Regions from separate parts of the Homo sapiens genome. Here region 1 is linked to region 2. The links are contacts of gene promoters, found by promoter capture Hi-C in blood cells and fetal thymus (Javierre and others, 2016). All regions are on one chromosome and are shown on one strand. Each heading gives the region's core, a stretch centred on a gene start or on the middle of the fragment in contact. The rest is flanking DNA. Distances are from core to core; before and after follow the strand shown.

What was found. The method cuts DNA at HindIII sites, captures the fragments that hold promoters and counts their contacts. A CHiCAGO score of 5 or more calls a contact.
Region 1: a fragment that was not itself captured here is called in contact with the fragment with the promoter of FBXO43 in region 2 in 6 of 17 cell types (monocytes, M2 macrophages, non-activated CD4 T cells and 3 more); the score reaches 7.8 in monocytes.

Annotation. Positions count from the first base shown.
Region 1 is chr8:98,158,101-98,162,892 of GRCh38, forward strand. It overlaps POP1 (POP1 ribonuclease P/MRP subunit), which reads left to right. Exons shown (of 16, transcript NM_001145860.2): 16 at 1-1,735. The coding sequence ends at 171. Among named protein-coding and RNA genes, the nearest start is that of NIPAL2-AS1, 16 kb to the right of the region's middle. The HindIII fragment of the contact is 4,067 bases long and covers 401-4,467 here.
Region 2 is chr8:100,144,371-100,149,318 of GRCh38, forward strand. It overlaps FBXO43 (F-box protein 43), which reads right to left and starts at 1,447. Exons shown (of 5, transcript NM_001029860.4): 1 at 681-1,447. The coding sequence starts at 765. RefSeq lists an enhancer at 1-59 and a silencer at 1,171-1,630. The HindIII fragment of the contact is 15,929 bases long and covers 1-4,948 here.

The sequences.
Region 1 (4,792 bases), core at 1,184-3,683, 2.0 Mb before region 2:
CAGGGAGATTTTTCCATGGCTGTTGGCTGTGGAGAAGCCCTGGGGTTTGTTAGCTTGACAGGCTTGCTGGATATGCTGTCCAGCCAGCCTGCAGCGCAGAGGGGCTTAGTGCTACTGAGGCCTCCCGCCTCTCTGCAGTATCGATTTGCGAGGATTGCTATTGAGGTGTGAATGCGTGCTTGTATCCCAGCAGGGCATAGATAATACGTTATTATTGTCTGCCAAGTTCTACATGTGGAGAATCTGCTTCTGCTTTAAAATATCATGTGAAACTCCCTGGAAACAAGAATAAAAAATTATGTATTATGCAGATGATGAAATGTTTACATCATTCCAGTAATGTCATTGATTTTCATCTTTCCCTGTCCTTGCTGTAATACTTTTAAATTATTTGGCCAAAAGCTTTGTATTATGATCTCTTGGTCTGTGTAGTTGTGGCTGAAAATAATGAGAAGCTCTACGAGTTATCATCCCCTTTTTTTGTTAGAAACAAAGGGCTTGTCAGGTCTATTTGAAAAACCTCATAGTCATGTGATAAGCAACAATAGATGTTTAATGATTTCACTGTTATAGCAGAAGACAAGAGAAGACGCTTGGCCTCTGTACATGAAATATGGGCTCCTGATGGACCTCATTCAATTCTGTACTGTGATTTCCATGCCGAACAACTCAAGCCTTAAAGAGAGAAATCATGGACAACTGATTTCTGCCTGTTTTCAGGCAGGCACAGTTTATGGCGTCAGTGCTAGGCTGGAATTAGAAAGTGGGGGTCTATGACGTGGACTTCCTGACTCTTTGATCTCTTTGTTGTTGACCAACACTTGATCCTACTAGTTACTTAATTTTTTTAAGTAAAAAATTATTATTATTTTGTTTCTGCAAAGATTTTCTCAAAGCCATAGAGGAGCATTTCTCAGAATATGTTCTATGATATGTGTCACCTAAAAAAGTAAGAGATTCCAAGGTCAGGTTGATATGGAAACTCTAGGTTAAATAAAGTTAAGCATTTCTTTATGAAAGAACTTCTGGAAACTTCCATGTGATAATGTGCATTGCGGATCTCTAGGAAGGAAATGATAGTGTATAGTATTTTCTAAATACTTGTGATTCCTAAAGTTCTCTTACAAGGAGCCCTTTGTAGGACCAGTGTTCTTAGTAGCGCGCTTTGGGCAGTGTGGCTGTGTAGTGCATAGCTACCTCTGCAAGGTGATAACTAAGCCGGCAAGCTGCCTTTCAACACTCATGCAGTCACGTTGTCCACCTGAGATTCTCAACAGGGTATAAAAGGAAGGTCTCATCTTGCCTCACAGGAAGAGTGGGCTCAGTGTGGCTTTTTTCCAACTATGGAGAAACTCAGTGCTCATCTACTTTAAGTTTCCACATATGGCTTGCTCATAGCCTTGGTCCTTACCTTTCCTGCCATAACTTTCTAGAAGAGCTTAATGGGATTTTTTTTCTAAAAAATGTAAATATGCAGTTAGGCATTATTTTATGTAAATGCATTGGGTTTTTACTGTAGCATTTGGCACTAAATGGCTTTGGGGGTGATGAGGTGGGGAAGGATACAGCAGGTGGTACAGTAGTCAGGAAGTACCTGCCACCAATGAGATGTCTGATGCTTTGCCTCTTACCATGCCTCTGAATGTCTTTGGATCCAACCCAGATGAGACTGAAAAAAAAAAAACAGTGTAACTAAGTGGCATCTGTAAACAGAATAAATGAAAATGTCACCTGATGTTCAGTTGTGAATATTTATATTTATTGGACCATTCCTTATTTGTTTTCTGGGCTCTCAGTCACCTCATTTGTGGCTGAGCTCACTCGATGACAGAAGTCTGAGTGTGCTGCGTGGTCACCTAACCTCATTCTGTACAGCCCTGCCTAGGGCCTGCTGCCCCGCCCTCATTATAGGGGACAGGGCACGTTTGCAGCCACTCTGCCTGGTGGGTGGTAGGTCAAAGAGCTGCGCACCAGAAAGATAGATTAGCATTTCCCAAAATGTATTCCTGGGAGTACTAGTCCCTGCAGCTGTTCCTGGAGAAAAGTATTTTATGGCTAAATAAATATGGGAAAAGCTATATATGGTATCCTCCTATTATGATTCACAATGAATACTTGCAGAGTCAAAGCTCTGCAAAGCTCTTTAGGAAAGAAATCTGTCTTTCAGACTCCCACACACGTACCTTTTTTGGTTTTTGCATACCTATTGTCCAGAGAACACTAGTTTCACAGAAGATACGTTGAAAAACTAACAGACTCTGCAGAGGCAGTAAAGAATCCATGTTCCTTATGAAAAAGACTGATAGGGGAATGGCTTACTTTCTGGCAGTTGAATTGATTAGCGTGTTGATCTTGATCCTTCCAAGTGCCTGCCATGCTGTACTAGAGCTACATAGCTACCAAATAAGTGCAATGTGGCCCTTGTCCTCTTGTTGAGGGAGCAATGCTTTTAGGGTTCTTGAAGCATCCTGACCAACATGGTGAAACCCTGTCTCTACCAAAAATACAAAATTAGCCAGGCATGGTGGCGCATGCCTGCCATCCCAGCTGCTTGAGAGGCTGAGGCAGGAGAATTGCTTGAACCCGGGAGGCGGAGGTTGCAATGAGCCGAGATCGCACCATTGCACTCCAGCCTGGGTAACAAGAGCAAAACTCCATTCCAAAAAAAAAAAAAGAAAAGAAAAGGCAGAGTTGTGAGCTGAACACTTACAGACCAGCTATGCACTTGAGTTCTGTAAGAAACAATGGATTCCTTTTGGTGTTTATGCTCTAGTAATATTGTTCATATCAGTCATCCATATTCATCATAAAACAATTAGAAAATGAAGATGAGCAACAATAACAAAATTTAAATCACCTGGATTTTCACCATGCAATATAACTAGTTACCTTCTGTTATGTATCCTAGACGTTAAGATGTATGTGGGTAGTTTTCTTTTAATAACATAAGCCGTTGCTTATATAAAGAGCTATACCATGCAAGTGCAGCAGAGTGCATGTTACCAGTTTTTTTGTTGGTGCTTGACTGGCAAGAGCTTTAAGGATAATACTCCTTTTTTTTTTTTTTTTTTTTAAATGGGAAGTTAGTATGTAACCACCCATCATGTACTAAGTGTAGCATTGCCGTCTTGGCGGCCACATGCCTTGCGTGAGTTCTTTCTTCCCAACCAGTGGGAGGTGAGGGGGGCGGTTGACAAGCTATATGGACTCCCTCATAGTCTTAACTGGCCTACTCGTAGCCAGCCGATCTGAGGCCTGGGGAGCACAGAGATAGGTCCAGGATTGAGCTGTTTAGCAGAGAATACATAGCCTGTAGCAACTGTGGGCCACTCAAGCATCAACCCCAGTTTCACAGCGGTTCTGGTTATTATAGGCCTCCTGAGGACACAGAGGAATACAGGCACTGCCTTTTCTTTGGCAACAGCAGCTTCCAGTCTTGGCACCCTTCCCTTCCCCTCCCCTTCCCCTCTCCTTTCCTTTCCTCCCCTTCCCCTCTCCTCCCCTCCCCTCCCCTCCTCTCCCCTCCTTTCCCCTCCTCTCCCCTCCTCTCCCCTCCTCTCCCCTCCTCTCCCCTCCTCTCCCCTCCTCTCCCCTCCTCTCTTCTTCTCTCCTCTTCTCTCCTACAGTCTTACTCTGTCTGCCCAGTCTGGAGTGCAGTGTCACGATCTTGGCTCACTGCAACCTCTGCCTCCCGGGTTCATGCGATTCTTCTGCCTCAGCCTCCCGAGTAGCTGGGATTACAGGTACACGCCACCATACCCGGCTAACTTTTGTATTTTTTAGTAGAGACGGGGTTTCACTACGTTGGTCAGGCCGGTCTCGAACTCCTGACCTCAAGTGATCTGTCCACCTCGGCCTCCCAAAGTGCTGAGTTTCAAGTGTGAGCCATTGTGCCTGGCCTTTGGCTGCATTTTAGAATCACCCAATAGCCCAAGCTGCAGCCCAGAAATCAATCTTGGGTTGGGCCCAAGGATCAGTATTTATGAGCTCCCCAGGCCGTTGTGATGTGCCGCTCAGTGGAGAATCGCCGCTTTCGGAGGTCTGGCTCTTGGACCCTCTGCACCTTGGGGAAGTGTGACTGAGTAACAAGGCCATGGAAACCCAAGAACTCCTGTGCCTGTAGCAGGCCTGCTTGCCATTACGAAAAAGTACATGTCTGCAAAGTCCGCTCACACGGTCTGTTGACTGCATGGTGAAGCGTCCAGGTGGGAACGTAATGAGAGCGTAGTGTCGAGGGCTGGGTGGCCCAGAGTCAGGGCTTCCACCTGGGGAAGAGGCCTGGTAGTGAAAAAGAAAACAGCCTCATTACTTCTGTAGCCTTCTCTACTTGAGAATATCAAATGAGGTCTCTTGTTTTTCTTTTGGTGAGTATACTTCCAGACCAGCTGTTCTCAGCCTTGGCTGCACATGGGAATCACCTGCAGGCTTTCAAAGCACTGGTGCCCAGGGCCTACCCTCCTGGGATGAAGCTTTAACTGGTCAAGGGTGTGAGCTAGACTTTGGGGGTTTTAACAGCTCCCAGGTGATTTGCAGCCAAGGTTGAGAACCACTCTTCCAGACTTTAAAAATGAGGTTCCAAAATAAATAATCAAAGATGCAGCTTATCAGTAATGGGGACCCTGAAGCAGGGTGTGGGGAGCAGATGCAGCTCTCTTGAGTGGGGCACACAGCTGTGACCCATGGCCCTGGTAGGGGCCTCCTGGACTTGGGCACGTGGCCAAGTTCATGTCAAGGCATTTTCCCTCTCCCCATGTTTTGAAAATTTAAATTTAATTAGATATTGTTCTGGAAG
Region 2 (4,948 bases), core at 197-2,696:
TCTACACACTTGAAGTTGCCTCCAACGTCCTTTCTCTGCTAGCATTTTCATCTTTCTACTACCCCAAGACGTTGGTCTCAAACGTGGTTCTTCGCAACTGAATTTTAAAATTATTCATGTAAAATCATGGACTGTCTGTTGTATTTTATGGACTCAACAGTTCACGGATAAATCAATCAAGCCTCTTCGATATTCATTTTTAAAAACTAGGCTTCTGATAAAAGGCTGAGAAAACTTATTCCTAAAGTGTTCTTTAAGAAAAAAAAAAAAAAAAGCAGCGGCCGGGCGCGGTGGCTCACGCCCGTAATCCCAGCACTTTGGGAGGCCGGGGCGGGCGGATCACGAGGTCAGGAGAGCGAGACCAACCTGGCTAACACGGTGAAACCCCGTCTCCACTAAAAATACAAAAAAATTATCCGGGCGTGGTGGCGGGCGCCTGTAGTCCCAGCTACTCGGGAGGCTGAGGCAGGAGAATGGCGTGAACCCGGGAGGTGGAGCTTGCAGTGAGCCGAGATCGCGCCACTGCACTCCAGCCTGGGCGACAGAGCGACTCCGTCTCAAAAAAAAAAAAAGAAAGAAAAAAGAAAAAGAAAAAAAAGAAAAAGCACCTACCACATCAGAGAATGAAGTACTTACATTAAACCCAAATGTTCTTCATTTGTTAAAGTGGAAACTCTTACCATCAGTAAATCTTGAGCTCTTAGATGTCAAAGTTACGTAGGCTTCCAAACAAGAAATTCTCTCATCTTTGTCTTTAAAACTCATGCCAAAATAATGCCACTTAAAGAGGAAAACTTTAGTTTGCACAATTAATTGAAAGGTGCAGCAGCATCATGATTGCTCAAAGTCGAAGGGTACACAGGGTGCATGCCGCAGGGATTATTCCTAACACTTGAGAAGGTCTAAATCATTTTGAATTTCCTTCAGCCCTCCAGAAAATAGTTATCTTAATATCCTTGTTTTCTCCAGCTGGACTTAGACATGAGTAAACTTCCCAAATTCGGGTTCCTGAAAAGGCAGCGTGTGCTGCAGCCTGGCACTGACTCCCCCGAGGAGCTATGGCGGGCGGGTGGGTAACGGTCTCACCAGGGCGTCAAAGATCCGCTAGGCCCAGAAAGCCAAGGGCAGCAGGGGATGGGCTGGCGTCACCAGGAGCGGAGGAGTGAGGGCTGCCGCGCGCCTCCCTAGGCCCAGCACCTGGAAGACACAGGGCGACGCGGGGCCGGGCCGCCGGGAGACCCGCTAACGGGCACTCGCCTGGGGTCCCGCCGCCTGCCTGGAGGCCGCGGGGCCGGGCGAGGCGCCGAAGCGGACAGGTGGGAGAGGAGCCGGGCAGCAGCCGCTGGATGGGCCGGGGAGAAGCCTCGGCCTCGCCCCCTGGGATGCGGGCTATGGCAACCCCCACGCCAGCTTCGCGTGGGGCCGCTGCCTTTACCTCCTTAGGTTTGAACGGCCCGCCCGGGGTAACCGCTAAGCGCAGCCCCGCCCCGCGCCGCGCTGTCCCGCCCCTTCCTCCGGCTCTGCAGCGCTCCCGCCCGGCCGCCCGCAGGCCTGGGTCCTCGCTTGAGCGGGAGGAGCGCCCCCTCTCTCGCTCACCCCTGCACCCGTCCCGAGGCGGGTCAGAAAGGCTCTGCTTCTCCCCATTCCCACTTTGGGAAGCATTACCGTATTTAGGAATGCTAACGTGGCCTACAGTGGGATGCCATTAGAAATCATGTATGAGAATGTTCCCTTGGAAATGATTCTCCAAACTGTCAAGTGCAAAAAGCAAGTTACAAACTGACCCCTTTTAGGTTAAAAATATGGATATACACAGGATGAGGTCTGAAAGGTATGAATAACTTGGATACGGTAAATTTGTACAGGATTATGTTTGCTTTTTAGTTCTTTTTATCTGTGTTTTCTTCTCATGTTTCAACAATGAATATATACAGATTTTGTGATAAAAAAGCTGAGCCGGGCCTGGTGGCTCACATCTGTAATCCCAGCACAGAGGTGGGAGGATCACTTGAGCCAAGGAATTTGAGACCAGCCTGGGCAACATAGTGAGACCCCCATCTCAAAAAAAAGATTTTTAAAAAATCTATTCATAAAAACCAGAGTGAAATGTGTTCATTGTTTACAAACATCCATTTTTGGGCATCATGAACTCCCAAGTACCCTCAAAGCCAAATAAATTTTTTAAACCCTAATTTTTTCATTCAATAAATATTTACTGGGCGTCTATTATATGCCAGGGACACTCCTGCTGCTCTTGGCAGCTTCTTCCTAGTCTCCTTTTTCTGGCTTCTTTTCCTTGGCCTACTCCCTAAATGAGAGGTCCTACCTCAGCATTTTTATTAGTTTATCATCCCATGCTTATGTAATTCTTATTCAGAACTTCAACCATCACTTTTAAGCCAATAACAGGCACTACCACCACTCTTCTCTGACTGGACATTTCTCCAACTGGATGTCCCTCAGTCATCCAAAACCAAACTCACTAAAATTATTATGAGACAGGGTCTCGCTCTGTCACGCACGCTGGAGTGCCGTGGTGCAATCTTGGCTCACTGCAACCTCCACCTCCCAGGTTCAAACGATTCTCCTGCCTCAGCCTCCCGAGTAGCTGGGATGACAGGCACCCGCCACCACGCCTAGCTAATTTTTGTATTTTCAGTAGAGACGGAGTTTTGCCAGGTTGGCCAGGCTGGTCTCGAACTCCTGACCTCAGGTGATCCACCTGCCTCAGCCTCCCAAAGTGCTGAGATTACAGGCATGAGCCACTGTGCCCGTCCACTAACAGTTATTAAATTCCAACTATGTGCCAATTACTGTGCTAGGTACTGGGAATACAGAGCTGACACAGCCACAGTTACTGCTGTTAAGGAGCTCATTGGTATAGAGCAAGTGCTGTAACAGAGGAACAGTAGCAGCACAAAGGAAAGAAGAACCAGCTAACTCTACTGGAGAACAGAGTGCATGAGATAGATTTTGATGTACAAGTGGCAATTTAAAAGGCAGACAGCAGGAAATTCCAAACTTAAAATGTATAAGGGCAGGAAAATTTCAAACTCAAAACAAAATGTGCAAGAGCAGTTGGGCACATGGAGAAGCTGCAAATAATTTGTTATAGGCAGAAACTAAGAGTTGTTAGAGGAAAGGATTAGAGAAAATTCCTGAGAAGTGAAGAAGCTAAGTCTTGGGAAGTTCTGGTTGCACCTTCAGAGTTTGAAGAGCATTTTAGAAAGTCCACTCTGGTGGCAGAATGGAGGACAGAATGAAGAGAGGCAAGGGTGGCTGCTAGGAGACCAGTAGGAAGCTACTGCATTTCTCCAGAAGGCAGTGGGGGGTGGAGCAGAACCAAGATGTGACATGTTCAGTTGGCAGAATCAACTGCATGGGGCAAGGAGTGAGGGAATGAAGAGTATAGGCTTGGGAGAAAATAAGATGCATTTAGTGTGAGGTTGTTAAGTTTGAGGTACCTGTAGGACTGTAAAGAATTAATGAATTACACATTCTTCAAGACAGCACCTCTCTGAAGCCTACCCCCACACTCCCTGGTAGAGTGAATAGTACCCTCTCTAGCTCTTCAAACAAATCTCTATTACAGCCATTTTACCCTTTCCTGCCCCACATTTGCAATTCTCCTGCAGAATTCTACTGAATTTTCTCTGTGTAGTTTACTACCTTCTAAAATCCCATATTATCTACTCATTTTTGTTTAATGTCTGCTCCCCATCTCCATCCCAATGTAAACAGGGCAGGGAATTTTGCCAATGGTTAAGTAGAATCCACATAACCCCAAAACCATTTAAACATTGCCCTTTTCTTTTTTCTCCAGTTAATTTATTTTTCTTGAGATATTTTATTATGTCTGAGGAGTGAAAGACTATATCATATCTCCTTTATATTGTTCAAGGAAGAATCATTGTCACCTCTCCCCACCTAAAAACGGGCAAAAAGACACCTAGTTATATGTAGTTTGCCTGAGCTTTACTTACATACTCCAGATTGAAGCCACTGAGCTGTAATTTCATATTCTTTACAGTCTTTTGCCTTTTTGCTTCCCTTTTTTTTGAGACAGAGTCTCACTTTGTCACCCAAGCTGAAGTGAAGTGGGGCAATTTCAGCTCACTGCAACCTTCGCCTCCCGGGTTCAAGCGATTCTTGCACCTCAGCCTTCCAAGTAGCTGAGATTACAGGTGCATGCCACCATGTCTGGCTAATTTTTTGTATTTTTAGTAGAGACGGGGTTTCATCATGTTAGCCAGGATGGTCTTGAACTCCTGACCTCAAGCAATCTGCCCGCCTCAGCCTCCCAAAATGCTGGGATTACAGGCGTGAGCCACGGTGCCCAGCCCTTTGCTTTCCTTTCTTGCATTGGGTGTCATCCCATCACTAATTTCAGAACTCTAAAACCCACCTGCTTGCCACAAAATCTGATGCTTCTTTTTGGGACCATCCAATAAAACGTAATGGGAGATTTCCCAAATTACCATGATATTCAAGCTATCTGGATATATTTAAGTGAATATAATCAAGGAAAAAGGAAAGACAGAGATTCAGGGAAAAAATAGCAACTTGCATCTCCATAACCTTCTTAATAAAGAGTTAAAAGCATTGTTTTCCAGGATGGCAAGACAACTACCCCCATTAAAACAGAGCAATGCAATGATGTCTGGCATGTAGTACATGCTCAGAAAAAGTTAATGCTATCATTGATAATAGTGTAGCTTACACTGACCAAACTCCCAAGTGATCCTAGAACTACCAGTCTCTGTTGATAGGAAAGAGCGTGTTGGATTGGGAACTAGCACCAACATGAATTCTTGTTGAAATTCTGGATCTTCTTGCTATGACTTGTCATTACTTTGCCCTTTTGTAGGGCCCCAGGACCCATTTGTATTCTACATATGTTGATCCATTCTGATCTCCATAAATTGTTCTGCACGAGAATTATCTTGAT